Linked DNA regions of Homo sapiens: region 1 is linked to region 2. Evidence: promoter capture Hi-C in 16 types of primary human blood cells and fetal thymus (Javierre and others, 2016). All regions are on one chromosome and are shown on one strand. The core of a region is centred on a gene start or on the middle of the fragment in contact, and the rest is flanking DNA. Distances in the headings are between cores, read along the strand shown.

Region 1 (6,807 bases), core at 2,528-5,027, 220 kb before region 2:
GTGAATTTTATCCCTGTTCTGGGCCTTGTCGAGCTCCTCTGTAGAAGGTGAATTTCTATGATTGTACTTTCTGAGTTGTCATATTTCATTATCTACTTTAAAAGTTTATCTCTCTCTCTTTTTCTTCATCAGATGGTAAACACCCTGTTCTGAATTTAAAGGTAAGATCATTTTTTTTAAAAACTGATTTTCTCAATAAATAGAGTTTTTATCATAATTTTTCATAAATTTTCAACAACTTTGGTGTTGAAACTTTGGCGGTGATTTTGGGGCAAAAATAAATCTTCCCTTAAGAGTTCTTTCCTGTTGAATATTTCTTTTAAATGCTTTTTTTTTTTTTTGAGAAGGGGGTCTCACTGTCACCCAGACTGGAGTGCAGTGGCGCAATCTCAGCTCACTGCGGTCTCCGTCTTCCAGGCTCAAGCGATCCTCCCACCTCAGCCTCCCGAGTAGCTGGGATCGCAGATGCATGCCACCACACCCAGCTAATTTGTTGTATTTTTGATAAAGATGGGGTTTCACCATATTACCCAGGCTGGTCTCAAACTCCTGAGCTCAAGTGATCTGCCCATCTCGACCTCCCAAAATGCTGGGATTACAGGCATGAGCCACTGTGCCTGGCCTTAAATACTTTTAAAACATGAGGAAATTGATATTTTCCATAGTTTAATGATGAAAGTAATGTATTAAAGGGTTAGAAACTACTTTATAATTAAAATGAATGTGGAATGAATAGACAATTTTATCTTTTGTTAAAATTATTTTTTGAGACAGGATCTCCCTCTGTGACCCGGGCTGGAGTGCAGTGGTGTGATCATAGCTCACTGTAGCCTCAATCTCCTGGGATCAAGTGATTCTTTTGCCTCAGTCTCCTGAGTAGCTGGGACTACAGGCACATGCCACCACTCCTGGCTAATTAAAAAAAAATTTTTTTTTAGAGATGGGGTCTTGTTATGTTGCCCAGGATGGTCTCAAGCTCCTGGGCTCAAGCGATCCTCCTGCCTTGGCCTCCCAAGGGCATTGGGATTGCAGGCATGATGTGACGTGCCTAGCCTGAGATATTTTTCTGAGATGGAGTCTTGCTCTGTCACCCAGACTGGAGTGCAGTGGCGCAGTCTCGGCTCACTGCAACCTCCGCCTCCTGGATTCAAGTGATTCTCCTGCCTCATCCTCCCGAGTAGCTAGGACCACAGGTGCATGCCACCATGCCCAGCTAATTTTTGTATTTTTAATGGAGATGAGATTTCACCATGTTGGCCAGTCTGGTCTCAGACTCCTGACCTCAGGCGATCCCACCTGCCTCGGGCTCCTAAAGTGCTGGGATTACGGGTGTGAGCCACCACACCTGGCCTGGCCTGAGAATTTTAATAACTAATTTGCAAACATGGAAATAGTTCTAACTTAAGTTTTTCATTGTGCGATGTCATAGGAACTTAAAAATTAAACATTTCTCTGCAGAGTTAATTTATAACCTTGTCTACTTTGTCAGCAGAAATTAGAAACTTAATATCACACCACCATGTAAGGAAAAATTAACAAAAGTTCACAGCCTTCCCTTTCCTCTAGGTTTGGGGTTGAGAAGCAATATCTTACTGTTCCTTTCTCAGCATTTTGCAAATGTGCTTCCCTGCAGTTGATGGGGTCCTTTTTGCCCATCCCAGTGAGAAGAGGCCTGGCTGGAGTTTGCTGAGGGCATCTCTGCTCAGCACTTGCAGCCCTACCTAGCACATGCTTTTCAACGTGAGCCCACAGCCCGCTACTCACGGGATCTACCTGTAAGGACAGTCACTGAACTCAGTGCAGAAAGGCAGGAAGAAAGCTCAGGCAGGACTTCCTTTATAGCCTCAGAGAGCCCACCAGAGGGGAAGACACTTAAGGTCTCAGATTCAGGTATAAGAAACAGTGTAATCCCAGCATGTTGGGAGACCAAGGTAGGAGGATCCCTTGAGCCCAGGAGCTCAAGGCTAGCCTGGACAACAGGAGACCCCATCTCTACAAAAAAAAAAAAAAAAAAATTAGGTGTGATGGCCCATGTGTAATCCCAGCTACTTGGGAGGCTGAGGTAGGAGGATTTCATGAGCCCAGGAGTTGGAGGCTGCAGTGAGCTGCGATCACACCACTGCACCCTAGCCTGGGTGACAGAGTAAGACCCTGTCTTAAAAAAGGAAAAAAAGAAATAGTACATATTAAAGTTTTGAAAGCTAAAACAAACAAAGAACAAGAGTCAAAATGAAGGAAATAAAGCATGCTTATATACCTGCTGTCTAATGACCTAGCTGCGTGTGTCCACTTTATAAAACACTAATGCTCTGCACTTATTCCTCTTATGTTCTTTCTTTCCTAGGATGAAAAACCTCCATTATGTGAGAAACCTCCACCCTCCCCAGGTATTTGCCTTTTGAATTATATTATGATTGAAAAGCTTGTTTTGGAGAATATCCAGATTAATTTTATCTGAAAATAAAGATTACATTTTCTTTTTCTTGTATTAGTTGTTGAACTTTCACCCTTGCCTCAAAAGAGAGGGTCCAAACACTAGGTAGTGGACGTATGTCCATACAGGATGTGCTTGGGTCCTGGGAGGGTGGGGGTTGGACCTGGGGGGACGTGGACCTGTGGGATATGCTGGGATCCTGGGGGAAGGGAGGTGGACCTGTGGGATGTAATGGGATCCTGGGGGTGGAAGGAGGACCTGTGGGATGTGCTGGGATCCCAGTGGGAGGAGTGGACCCATGATGTACTGGGATCCGTACTGGGAAGGCAGGTGCAGTTATGGGCTCTGCTCTGAGGCTGAAGGCAGAGGGAGAGGTCTAGAGATGCTTTATGGGTTATGCCCCCTGAACAGTTTGGGGAGCTTCAGTGGCTTCCAAAATGGAGGTTATAATTTTTGCTGTTAGGTCCCACATTGTTACAAGATCTTTGGGGTGTCGCTTTTCTGGTCGGAAATGTCTGTGGTGCCAGTGTGCCTTTGCCTGAGTTCTTGTCCTGCGTCCAGGAAGAATGAGGTAAGCAGACAAGTGGAGGGTGAGCAAGACGAAGAGGAGCTTTACTGCATGTTAGAACAGTTCAGAGGAGACCCACAGTGGGTAGCTCCTCTCTGTAGGCAGGTCGTCCCGTTAAGTGTTCAGCTCTCAGCAGAGAGGAGGTCCCCTGGAGTCGATGGCTCCTCTCTGAAGGCAGGTCACCCAACTGTCTCTGCAGCTCTCAGCAAAGAGGAAGCCCTGGAGAGGGTTGTTCTTCTCTGCAGCTGGTTATTCTGACCAGCTCCTAGTAGAGAGGAGGCCCTGGAGTGGGTTGCTCCTCTCTGCTGCTGGTCCTCTGACATCTCCAGCTATCAGCAGAGAGGGGAACTCCTCTCTGCAGCTGGTCATCTCATCTGCTCTGCTCCAACTAAGCCCAGGGCTTTTATGGGCCTCAGAAGGGAGGAAGTGCGCACCGATTGGTCCATGGGTGGCCATGGGTGGGCCTGGAAAAGGCACCATAAGTTCCTACTGCAGTCCCACGGGACAGGCAACCCGGTCCCCAGCCTTCAGGCCCTCTCCGACCTGAAGGCGGGGCCTCACCGGGGACCTGCCTGCTTCTGCCCAGGAACCTGTCTCCCTCCTGCTGCCCAGTCCATGGCACCCAGGCTGCTCACACCAAGGGGCAACTGCAGGCCAGTGCAGAGCCATCCTCAGCACCCCCTTGTCTTTCCCTCCTGTGCTCATGGGTGCCCAAAGTCTGGAGGGGGCTGAGGCGGCAGGGCGCTGTCGTGTCAGTACTGCCCTGAGTATGCACACTCCCAGCCAGGCTGTGACAGTGCCCAGGCTTGGCCTAAACCCCGCTCCAACCCTGCTGCAAGACTGGAGCAGGCACCAGGAGCAGGGAGAGACCAGGCAGCTAGAGCAAACACCCATAAGCCTGCGGGGACACGGGAGCCTTCCCAGGCCCCCGAGGGTGCAGACTGCAGAGACACCCAGGTCCTACACATGGGAGGGCAACTGTAGCAGCACCCCATGAGCTCCTGCCCCACCAACTCAGAAGGGGCAGGGCTCCCGCTTGTCCCCGGCTCCTGATGGCTCTGTGGAGCATGCAGCCCTGACCATACCTCTGGAGCAGGTGCCCACAGTGGGGTGAAGCCAGGCAGTGGGATCAGGCACTTCGGAGCCTATGGTGGGTGGTGGGGGCCTTCTTGGGCCCCCAAGAACACAGAGATTCTCGGGTCTGCAGCCGGGCTTGGGCAGCTGCAGCAGCACCCAGGGAGGGCCGGGGCTCCTGCCTGCTCCATGGAGCAAGAGGCTTGGGCCACACCTCCCTGCTCTAGAGTCTGTGCGGTGGCCACTCTAGATGGGCCACTGCTGCCATCAGTGTCACTGCTCTGAAAATCCTGGTTTAAGTCTCCTCCGCGTCAGATTAACTTTATTTGCACCCTTTCAATCTCAGCATTTTCAATGCTGTATTCTGGGCGATTGCTGGGGCTCCAACTTCTGCGCCATGCATTCATTTTTCATGATGTGTATCCTGCGGCTCAGCCCATCCTTTCAGTTTATGGTGTTAATCAAACGTTAACTTCCATGATTTCTGTGACACTGACTACGTCTCTCTGAAAGTTGTAACCATGCGCATCCAGTCTTAGGGTTTGTGTTGCAGCCCCTTCTCTTCTCTCACTTGCCATTGGTGTTCTCTGGCTCTGCTGTTTGATACCTCTTGGGGTCTCTGAGATTCCCTGTGGCCCACATGGGGATGCTACCTCTGTTTACTGCACCCTGCCTGAAGAGGGAGAGCCAGCAGGCTGCCAGGCTGTACCGACTGCTGCCTCCAGCAACTGATGGGGATGGACAGGATGTGAGGCCCACCGGGATCCGTGGGGACCCCTCTTCCTCCTGGCTTTCTCCAGCCCCCTGCCCTGCCTTTCTGCCCTCAGGGCCTGTGTGTTCTGCCTGAGGAGGGGCACACATTTCTGCTGTTGCTGCCTGGGTCAGGTGGGTTAACCCCTTGCTATTCCCACTCTGGTTATCTAACTCAACAGCTCATCAGCTGCTTCAAGCTGCTTCTTTTTAAATATAATTTTATTTATTGATTGATTTTTGTAGAGATGGGCTCTTGCTATGTTGCTCAGGCCGGTCTCGAACTCCTGGCCTCAAGCAAGCTTCCTGCCTCAGCTTCCCAAAGTGCTGGGATTGCAGGTGCGAGCCACCAGGCCCAGCCTCATCAGCTCTTTCTAGGCCACTTTGTGTCTCCACTCCTACCAGGGCAAGGTGTATCCCTGGAGCCACCCCTCCCCATTTTCTAGCTGCCCTCTCTTGGCACATTTCAGGCTTGGCACCCATCTTCATTCTCATCTCAACTGTTTTATCTCTGGGATTTCTCAGGGTTCCCTTGTTTCTATGTAGCTGTGGAGTTTCCCATTTCTGAGCCTCACCTTTTGCATGTTAGGGATTGGATATGTGTGTGTCAGAGGTTGGGCCAGGCTCTCTGGAGCCACCAGCCATCCTGCCCTCGTCTGTGTGGAAGCTCTGCTTCCGCCTCTCCCTCCCCTGGGAGGTGCGCTGGCCAGGGCCCATGGGAGCCTCACCTCCTGTGACCTTTCGGAGCACATCTCCCCGTGGAACAGCGCTGGTTTCCACCCCACTTTCTTGCTCTTCCTTCTTAAGGTCCTATGTGACCTCGGTTTTCTCCTCACCCTGGTGCCTTCAGGTGCTGCCCACAGGCCAGTGGCTCGTCAGTCTCCCCAGCAGAGGCTGCCCTGGGACTCTGGGCCTCTGTACCAACCCAAGCCTGCCTCTCCTCATCTTCCATCCCCACCTGCTCTTCACAGTGTGCTCCTCATCTGGGGGAGCATCTGCCAGACACAGACCTGGGTGGTCATCCTGGGTCTGCTTCTCTCTCACTGCCCGCACCCAGCCAGCCACCAGCCCCTGAGTCCTGCTCTCATGTGTCCTTTTCTCTGTGTCCCCACTCTAGTGCTGCCCCTCAGCTGTTGGGCTAGGCCTCATTCTAACCTGCCTTCTTCCCTGCTGGCCTGAGGGATTCACCCAAGAGCAGAGCCTCTTCCTTCTCACACCTTTGCTTGAAAGCCCTGCTGGCTCCTGCTGCCCTGCAAGATGAACTTTCCATGCCACATCACAATAGGCACGGCCTCCTGCAGCTCTGGCCTCCCTTTCTGGCCTCCCCTCAGTACCTCTCTTCCTGCCACCCGCTGTGACTTCATCAGGCCACTTACTGTTTCCTGTAGAAGCCATTCCCTTCCCAGGGACCAAAGAACATGGCACCAGGCCTGATGTGGTTTTTGGAACAAAGTCAGTTGATTTTGATGTAACATTGTCAACATCAATTAACATTGTAAAATTTTCCCCTGAACCCTTTCAGATATAACTGGTAGAGCACGTCAAAGATATACAGAAATAACCAGAGAAAAGTTTGAGGCATTAAAAGAAGAAAATATGGACCTAAACAATATGAATCAAAGCCTTACCCTTGAACTAAACACAATGAAACAAGCAATGAAAGAACTACAGTTAAAACTTAAGGGAATGGAAAAAGAGAAGAGAAAGCTCAAAGAGGCTGAGAAGGCGTCGTCACAGGAAGGTGGGGACAGACAGAGTGCCTTTATTAGAGGAATGAGCAGGACTTCACTCAATTATTTTGAGAGTTAATATTTTATGTTGTGATATTTGTGTTGGTAATTTATGTTGTAATATTTCAGGTTTTTTTGTTAATATCCTTATGTTTGTTGAGATTTGATTTCATCTGCTATATCATTATTACACTAAAGAAATTCCTCAGGTTGGAAAGAAGCTGAATTTACAAAAACAAAACAGAGATTCC
Region 2 (6,994 bases), core at 4,081-6,580:
TCTGTAAGGAACTGAAACAAATTTACAAGAAAAAAACCCCATCAAAAAGTAGGCAAAGCGCATGAACAGACACTTCTCAAAAGAAGACATTTATGCAGCCAACAAACATATGAAAAAAAGCTCAACATCACTGATCATTAGAGAAATGCAAATCAAAACCACAATGAGATACCATCTCATGCCAGTCAGAATGGCAATTATTAAAAAGTCAAGAAACAACAGATGGCTGGCAAGGCTGTGGAGAAATGGGAATGCTTTTATACTGTTGGTGGGAGTATAAATTAATTCAACCATTGTGGAAGACAGTGTGGTGATTCCTCAAAGATCTAGAACCAGAAAAACCCAGCAATCCCATTACTGGGTATATACCAAAAGGAATATCAATCATTCTGTTATAAAGACATACATGCGTATGTTCACTGTAGCACTAGTCACAATAGCAAAGACATGGAATCAACCCAAATGCCCATCAGTGATAGACTGGATAAAGAAAATTTGGTACATATACACCATGGAATACTAGGTAACCATAAAAAGTAACAAGATAATATCCTTTGCAGGGACATGGATGAAGCTGGAAGCCATTATCCTCAGCAAACTAACACTGGAACAGAAAACCAAACACCGTATGTTCTCACTTATAAACAGGAGCTGAACAATGAGAACACATGGACACAGGGAGGGGAACCACACACTGGGGCCTATGGGACAGAGGGGAGGGAGAGTATCAGGATAAAAAAACTAATACATGCGGGGCTTAATAACTAGATGATGGGTTAATAGTTGCAGCAAACCAACATGGCACATGTCTATCTATGTAACAAACCTGCAGGTCCTGCACTTGTATCCTGGAACTTAAAATTAAATTAAAAAATAATAATTCAATCGTATTACTATATTCCAGAAATGGAAATTGGAAATTTAAAATTACAAAAAGGCTGGGAGTGGTGGCTCATTCCCATAATCCCATTACTTTGGGAGGCTGAGGTGGGACGATTGCTTGAGCCCAGGAGTTTGAGAAACCAGCCTGGGCAACACAGTGAGACCCTGTCTCTAAAAAAATTTTTTTTAATTAACCAGGAGTGGGGGCAAATGCCTTTAGGCCCAGCTACTCAGGAGGCTGGGGCAGGAGGCTCCCTTGAGCCCAGGAGTTTGAGGTTGCAGTAAGTTGTGATTACAGCACTGCGCTCCAGCCTGGCCAACAAAGCAAGACCCTGTGTCTTTTACTGAAAAACAAAACAAAACCCAGTAATTACTTAAAGGTCTAAATCTTAAAAATATGTGCAAAATTCCTATGCTGAAAGTTATAAAACACTGACGGAAAGAAATGAAAGATCTAAATAAGTATAGATATACTGTATTAATATATATTTCTCTGAACCCATCTATAAATACAACTCCATTCCAGCATGGTTTTTTTTTTTTTTTTGGTAGACTCAGCAAGCAATTACAAAATGCATATTACAAAAGCTAAGGAACTAGAACAATTCTGAAAAAGAATATAGTTGGAAGACTCATATCACCTGACTTCAAGAGTTATCTATAAAGGGCCAGGCACGGTGGCTCATGCTTGTAATCCCAGCACTTTGGGAGGCCGAGATGGGTGGACCACGAGGTCAGGAGATCGAGACCATCCTGGCTAACACAGTGAAACCCTGTCTCTACTAAAAATAAAAAAATTAGCCGGGCATGGTGGCGGGCACCTGTAGTCCCAGCTACTTGGGAGGCTGAGGCAGGAGAATGGCATGAACCCGGGAGGCAGAGCTTGCACTGTGCCGAGATCACACCACTGCACTCCAGCCTGGGGGACAGAGCAAGACTCCGTCTCAAAAAAAAAACAAAATAGTTACCTATAAAGCTACAGTAATAAGACAGTGTGGTATTGTGCATAAATCAATATAACAGGAATATAATCACACATATAGTCAATTGATTTTTGATAAGACACAAAGGAGGACGGATAGTCATTTCAACAAATGATGTTGGAACAGTTAGATAATCACGTGCAAAGAAATGAAACTTCATCCATTCCTTGCACCATATACAAAAATTAACTCGGATCATATATCTAAATGTAAAATATAAAATTATAAAACTTCTAAAAGGTTACATGGGGGGGCCAGGTGCAGCAGTTCTTGCCTGTAATCCCAGCAGTTTGGGAGGCCGAGGAGGGCAGATCACTTGAGGTCAGGAGTTGCAGACCAGCCTGGACAAGATGCTGAAACCCCGTCTCTACCAAAAATATAAAAATTAGCCGGCTGTGGTGGCACGCGCCTGTAATCCCAGCTACTCAGGAGGCTGAGGCAGGAGAATCGCTTGAACTCGGGAGGCGGAGGTTGCAGTGAGCCGAGATTGCTCCACCACACTCCAGCCTGGGCAACAGAGCGAGACGCCGTCTCAAAAAAAAAAAAAAAAAATTTTTTTTAAATAATAAAAGGATACATGGGGGAAAAAAATCTTTGTGACTGTGAGTCAGACAAAGATTTCTCAGATATTTAAGGCTAAATAATATGCCATTGTGTATGTACAAACCACCTTCCGTTTACCCAGTCATCTGTTGATGGATACATGGAGGGAAAAATATTTCATCCTTGTAAAAGCTAACTTCATCTGCAGGACAGGTGGTACCTACACAGCACTTGGGGAGACACTCCTATTCAGGACAGAATTTGCTCAGGGGGTGAGCTGGTTGAGGGCCAGAAGTGGGGGCAGATCAGAGTTGAGCAGGTAAATGAAAGAGTTCCTGGGCCCAACTGAGAGGAAAGGGGTTCGCGAACAGGAGGCAGCAAGTCCAGCTCCTGCTATCAAAGTTCTGCCGGGATGGTTGTGCATGTTTCAGGATGTGTAGCCCTGGAAGAGCCCTGTCTCTTCTAAAGAAGAAATCGGACTAGCATCGTTAGGACTGACAGACAACATCTGACTGGAGGAGAGGAGCTCGCCTGGTGGATCTGAACACCTAAAAGTCTGAGGGCAAATTCTCTGTAAGAGTCAGCTTCCTCAAACATTTGTGAATCTTTGTTCAGAGAGATTACACAAGACATCAAGTAAGAGCAGGAGAGTGCTGGTTTTAAAAATCGCACCGGCCGGGCGTGGTGGCTCACGCCTGTAATCCCAGCACTTTGGGAAGCCGAGGCGGGTGGATCACGAGGTCAGGAAATGGAGACCATCCTGGCTAACATGGTGAAACCCCGTCTCTACTAAAAATACAAAAAAAAAAAAAAATTAGCCAGGCGTGGTGGTGGCCGCCTGTAGTCCCAGCTACTTGGGAGGCTGAGGCAGGAGAATGGCGTGAACCCGGGAGGCGGAGCTTGCAGCGAGCTGAGATCGCGCCACTGCACTCCAGCCTGGGTGACTGAGCAAGACTCCTTCTCAAAATAAAATAAAATAAAATAAAATAAAATAAAATAAAATAAAATAGGCCAGGCACGGTGGCTCACGCCTGTAATCCCAGCACTTTGGGAGGCGGAGGCAGGTGGATCACCTGAGGTCAGGAGTTCGAGAACAGCCACGTGGTGAAACCCTGTCTCTACTAAAAATACAAAAATTAGCCAGGTGTGGTGGCAGGCACCTGTAATCCCAGCTACTCGGGAGGCTGAGGCAGGAGAATCACTTGAACCCGGGAAGCGGAGGTTGCAGTGAGCTGAGGTCACACCACTGCACTCCAGCCTAGACAACAAGAGCGAAACTCCATCTCAAAAAAATAAATGAATAAATAATAAAATAAAATAAAACAATCCCACAATCTGCTACGTCCAGCTCCTGGGCCCACTGAAGTGTGATTTTCAAAGTATTTAGATTTCCTTTCTCCAATAACCCATACCCACCCCTCTGCTCTGGCCTGTCAACTCCTTCCTCCAGCAACGCTTTCCCCTTCACCAATGAGCCCTCACTGGACTCCAAGGGGGAAAAGCAAGGGTCCAGGCGGGCGTCCCTTCCCCGAGGACTAGAACAACGCCCACGCAGAGCCCACGCGGTGAGCGGATAGGGCAACAGAGACTGGGGGCATGAGGGAAGCCCGGACCCATGGGCTGGGGCTGCCCGGGCCACCCGACCCTGTCCAGGCGCCGAGCCTAAGGGCCCCGTGGAGTACGGAGAGCGGGGCCCTGGGGACGCCAGTGTCGCTTGGCCCGGGTGATCGAGCATTCGGAGGAGCAACCAATTCCGCGCTCCTCCAGGTGCATCCCGGAGCACGCCAGGGCCCGTGAAACCCGGGCTCATCCGGGTTCTACCCCAGCTCCCAGCCCGGGGTGCCCCCTGGTGGGGGCGCAGGGAGGGTTCAGGTGGGGGAGGGCGGGGTGGGGTTGGAGTGGAGGTGGGGTGGGCTGCGGCTGGGGTGCAGGTGGGAGTGGAGATGGGGTGGTGGTGGGGTGTGTGGGGCTGAGTGTGGGGGGATGAAATGTTGGGGTGGAGGTGTGAGTGGGGGCGGTGGGAATAAGGATGGGGTGGGGACAGGGGCGAGGGTGTGACTGTGGGGTGGGCAGCGATAAGGAAACGGGTGGGAGCTGGGGCTAGGGTAGGAGTTGGGGGTGTGTGGGGTTGGGAGTGGGATGGGTTGGGGTGGGAGTGGGGTGGGAGTGGGGGCGTGGTGTGGCGGCATGGGATATACGGGGTTGGGATGTGTGGGAGTGGGATGGAGTGTGCAGCAGTGAGATGGGGTGGGGGCATGTGTGAGTGTGGGGGTGGAGCTGGGTGGGAGTGGGTGTGGGAGGATGTGTGGGTTGGGGGAGGAGTGGGCGTGGGGAGTAGGTGTGGGCTGAGAGGGAGTGGACATGGGGGGGATGCGTGGGCTGGGAGGAGTGGGTGTGGAGGGATGTGGAGGCTGGGATGGGGGGAGGGGTGGGGGCTGTGTAGGGTTGGGGTCGGGGGTGGGAGGCTGTGCGGGGCTGCGGTGGGTGTAGGAAGCTGTGCGGAGCTGGGGTGGGGGTGGGAGGCTGTGCGCGGCTGGGGTGGGGGTGGGGGACTGCGTGGGTCTGGCGTGGGTCTGGCTTGGCGGCGCTCACCTTCAGCACCAGGAGCTGGAGCATCCTCCTGGCGCCCGAGGGCAGATGGGCCCCCTCGCCCTGGAAGTCCCCTACCGTCGCGGGTGAGGCTGGCTGCGTCCGCCCCGGCCAGGCCCCCGCCGCGAGTGCGTTCCTTCCCTCCACCTTTAGCGCCTGGGCCCCCCGCGGCAGGTGCCCCACACTCCTCGTCCCCAGGAGCCCTCGCGGACCCCGGGGTCGGCTCGAGGCAATGCGCTCCGTCCTGGCAGTAACCAGCCCCTCGCTGCGGGATCCCTGCCTGCCTGGCCTCGGGCCTCCCGCACCCACCGGATGCCCGCGCACGCTGAGCAGGCCTTGAGGCGTCGGAGACCACGTGGTCCACCCAACGGCCCAACAACGTAAGGCACAGCGCCACGCGGTGGCCAGGAGGACTGACGCGCGGAGGCCCTGGGAGGCCCGGCTAGGGGTCGCGTGATTCTCTCTTTTGCAGCCAGCAGGACTGCCCTGCAGGCCCCAGGGACACTCGCCTGTCCCCCGGAGGGACAGAGGGGCCGCGTGCGGCTGAGTCCGTTGGAAACCACCTTTGCAAAATTGTAACTGAGGAAATTGTGATGGTGAAAGAAATCAGACCTAATCAACTCCATCTTGCCTCTAACCTTTAAGCTGTCCTTGTTTATTCCTGGGCGGAAGCCCAACTAACCTTGGGAAGGAATTCAGTCCATGGTTTGACTCTGAAACAAAATTGATAAGAGCCTGTGAATCCTGAAAATGTGAGATAGGTCTCAGTTCATTTAGAAAGTTTATTTGGCCAGCAGAGCGAGGTGGCTCAGGCCTGTAATCCCAGCGCTTTGGGAGGCGAGGGGTGCGGATCACCTGATAAGGTTAGGAGTTGGAGACTAGCATCCTCGACATGGTGAAACCCCGTCTCTACTAAAAATAGAAAAATTAGCCTGGCATGGTGGGGAGCGCCTCTAATCCCAGCTACTTGGGAGGCTGAGACAGGAGAATCGCTTGAACCCGGGAGGCAGAGGTTTCAGTGAGCTGAGATCAGGCCACTGCACCCCAGCCTGGGCGACAGAGTGAGACTCTGTCTCAAAAAACAAAACAAAACAAAAAATTTTGCCAAGGTTGAGGACAGGCGCCCCTGACACAGGAAGTCCTAACGACATTTGCTAGACGTGGTCGAGGCACAGCTTGTGTTAAAGTTGGAGGGTGTCCAGGTTCTTGGTGTCTTGAAGAAAGAATTTGACAAAAGGCACACACAAAGCAAGGAAGGAATGAAGGGTTTTATTGAAAAAGTACACTCCACAGTGTGGGAGCAGGCCTGAACACAGGGACTCAAAGGCCCGGCAGAATTTCTGTGAATTTAAATACCTTCTGCTTGGGGTACGCCCGATGTAAATGAAGACGGTGAAGTAAAGTTACGAAGTCATTTACTCGGTGTATGCCCTATGGAGAGGGTATTTCCCCTTATAGCTGAAGCGTGAATCGGCCTTATGTTCCCTACCTCCAGACCCTATTTTCCTGCCTCACTTGGTCTTTTACATTTTAGGGAGGCATGAGACAACAATCCTTGAATCAGCTCAGTGGATCAGCTGACACCACCCACACCGATAATCTGCCTCAACCAGTTCTGCCAAACCAACCAGGAAGAGTAAATAGCAAGAAAAACTCCAACAACCTCTGATTCCATCTTCAACCTGGCCAATCAGCACTCCCCACTTCCCAAGCTCCTACCCGCCCAATTGTCTTTAAAAACTCTGTTCCTCAAATGCTCGGAGAGACTGATTTGAGTAATAATAAAACTCCAGTCTCCCACACAGCCGGCTCTGCGTGAATTACTCTTTCTCCATTGCAATTCCCTGTCTTGATAAATTGGCTCTGTCTAGGCAGCGGGCAAGGTGAACCCATTAGGTGGTTACAAGTTCATTATTTTATTTTTAAAGAGACAGGATATGGCTCTCTTGCCCAAGCTGGAGTGCAGTGGCACAATCATGGCTCACTGCAGCCTTGAA

Evidence for each region. Contacts are between HindIII fragments. The CHiCAGO score rates a contact against its expected background, and 5 or more counts as called.
Region 1: a fragment that was not itself captured here is called in contact with the fragment with the promoter of TDRD12 in region 2 in 4 of 17 cell types (naive CD4 T cells, total CD4 T cells, non-activated CD4 T cells and 1 more); the score reaches 8.8 in naive CD4 T cells.

What each region holds. Positions count from the first base shown.
Region 1 is chr19:32,933,211-32,940,017 of GRCh38, reverse strand. CEP89 (centrosomal protein 89) reads left to right here. Exons shown (of 19, transcript NM_032816.5): 6 at 133-161; 7 at 2,345-2,387; 8 at 6,349-6,567. Among named protein-coding and RNA genes, the nearest start is that of CEP89, 35 kb to the left of the region's middle. RefSeq lists enhancers at 3,398-3,897, 3,898-4,399. The HindIII fragment of the contact is 2,706 bases long and covers 2,425-5,130 here.
Region 2 is chr19:32,718,103-32,725,096 of GRCh38, reverse strand. TDRD12 (tudor domain containing 12) reads right to left here and starts at 5,330. Exons shown (of 33, transcript NM_001366102.1): 1 at 5,001-5,330. The coding sequence starts at 5,024. The HindIII fragment of the contact is 20,000 bases long and covers 1-6,994 here.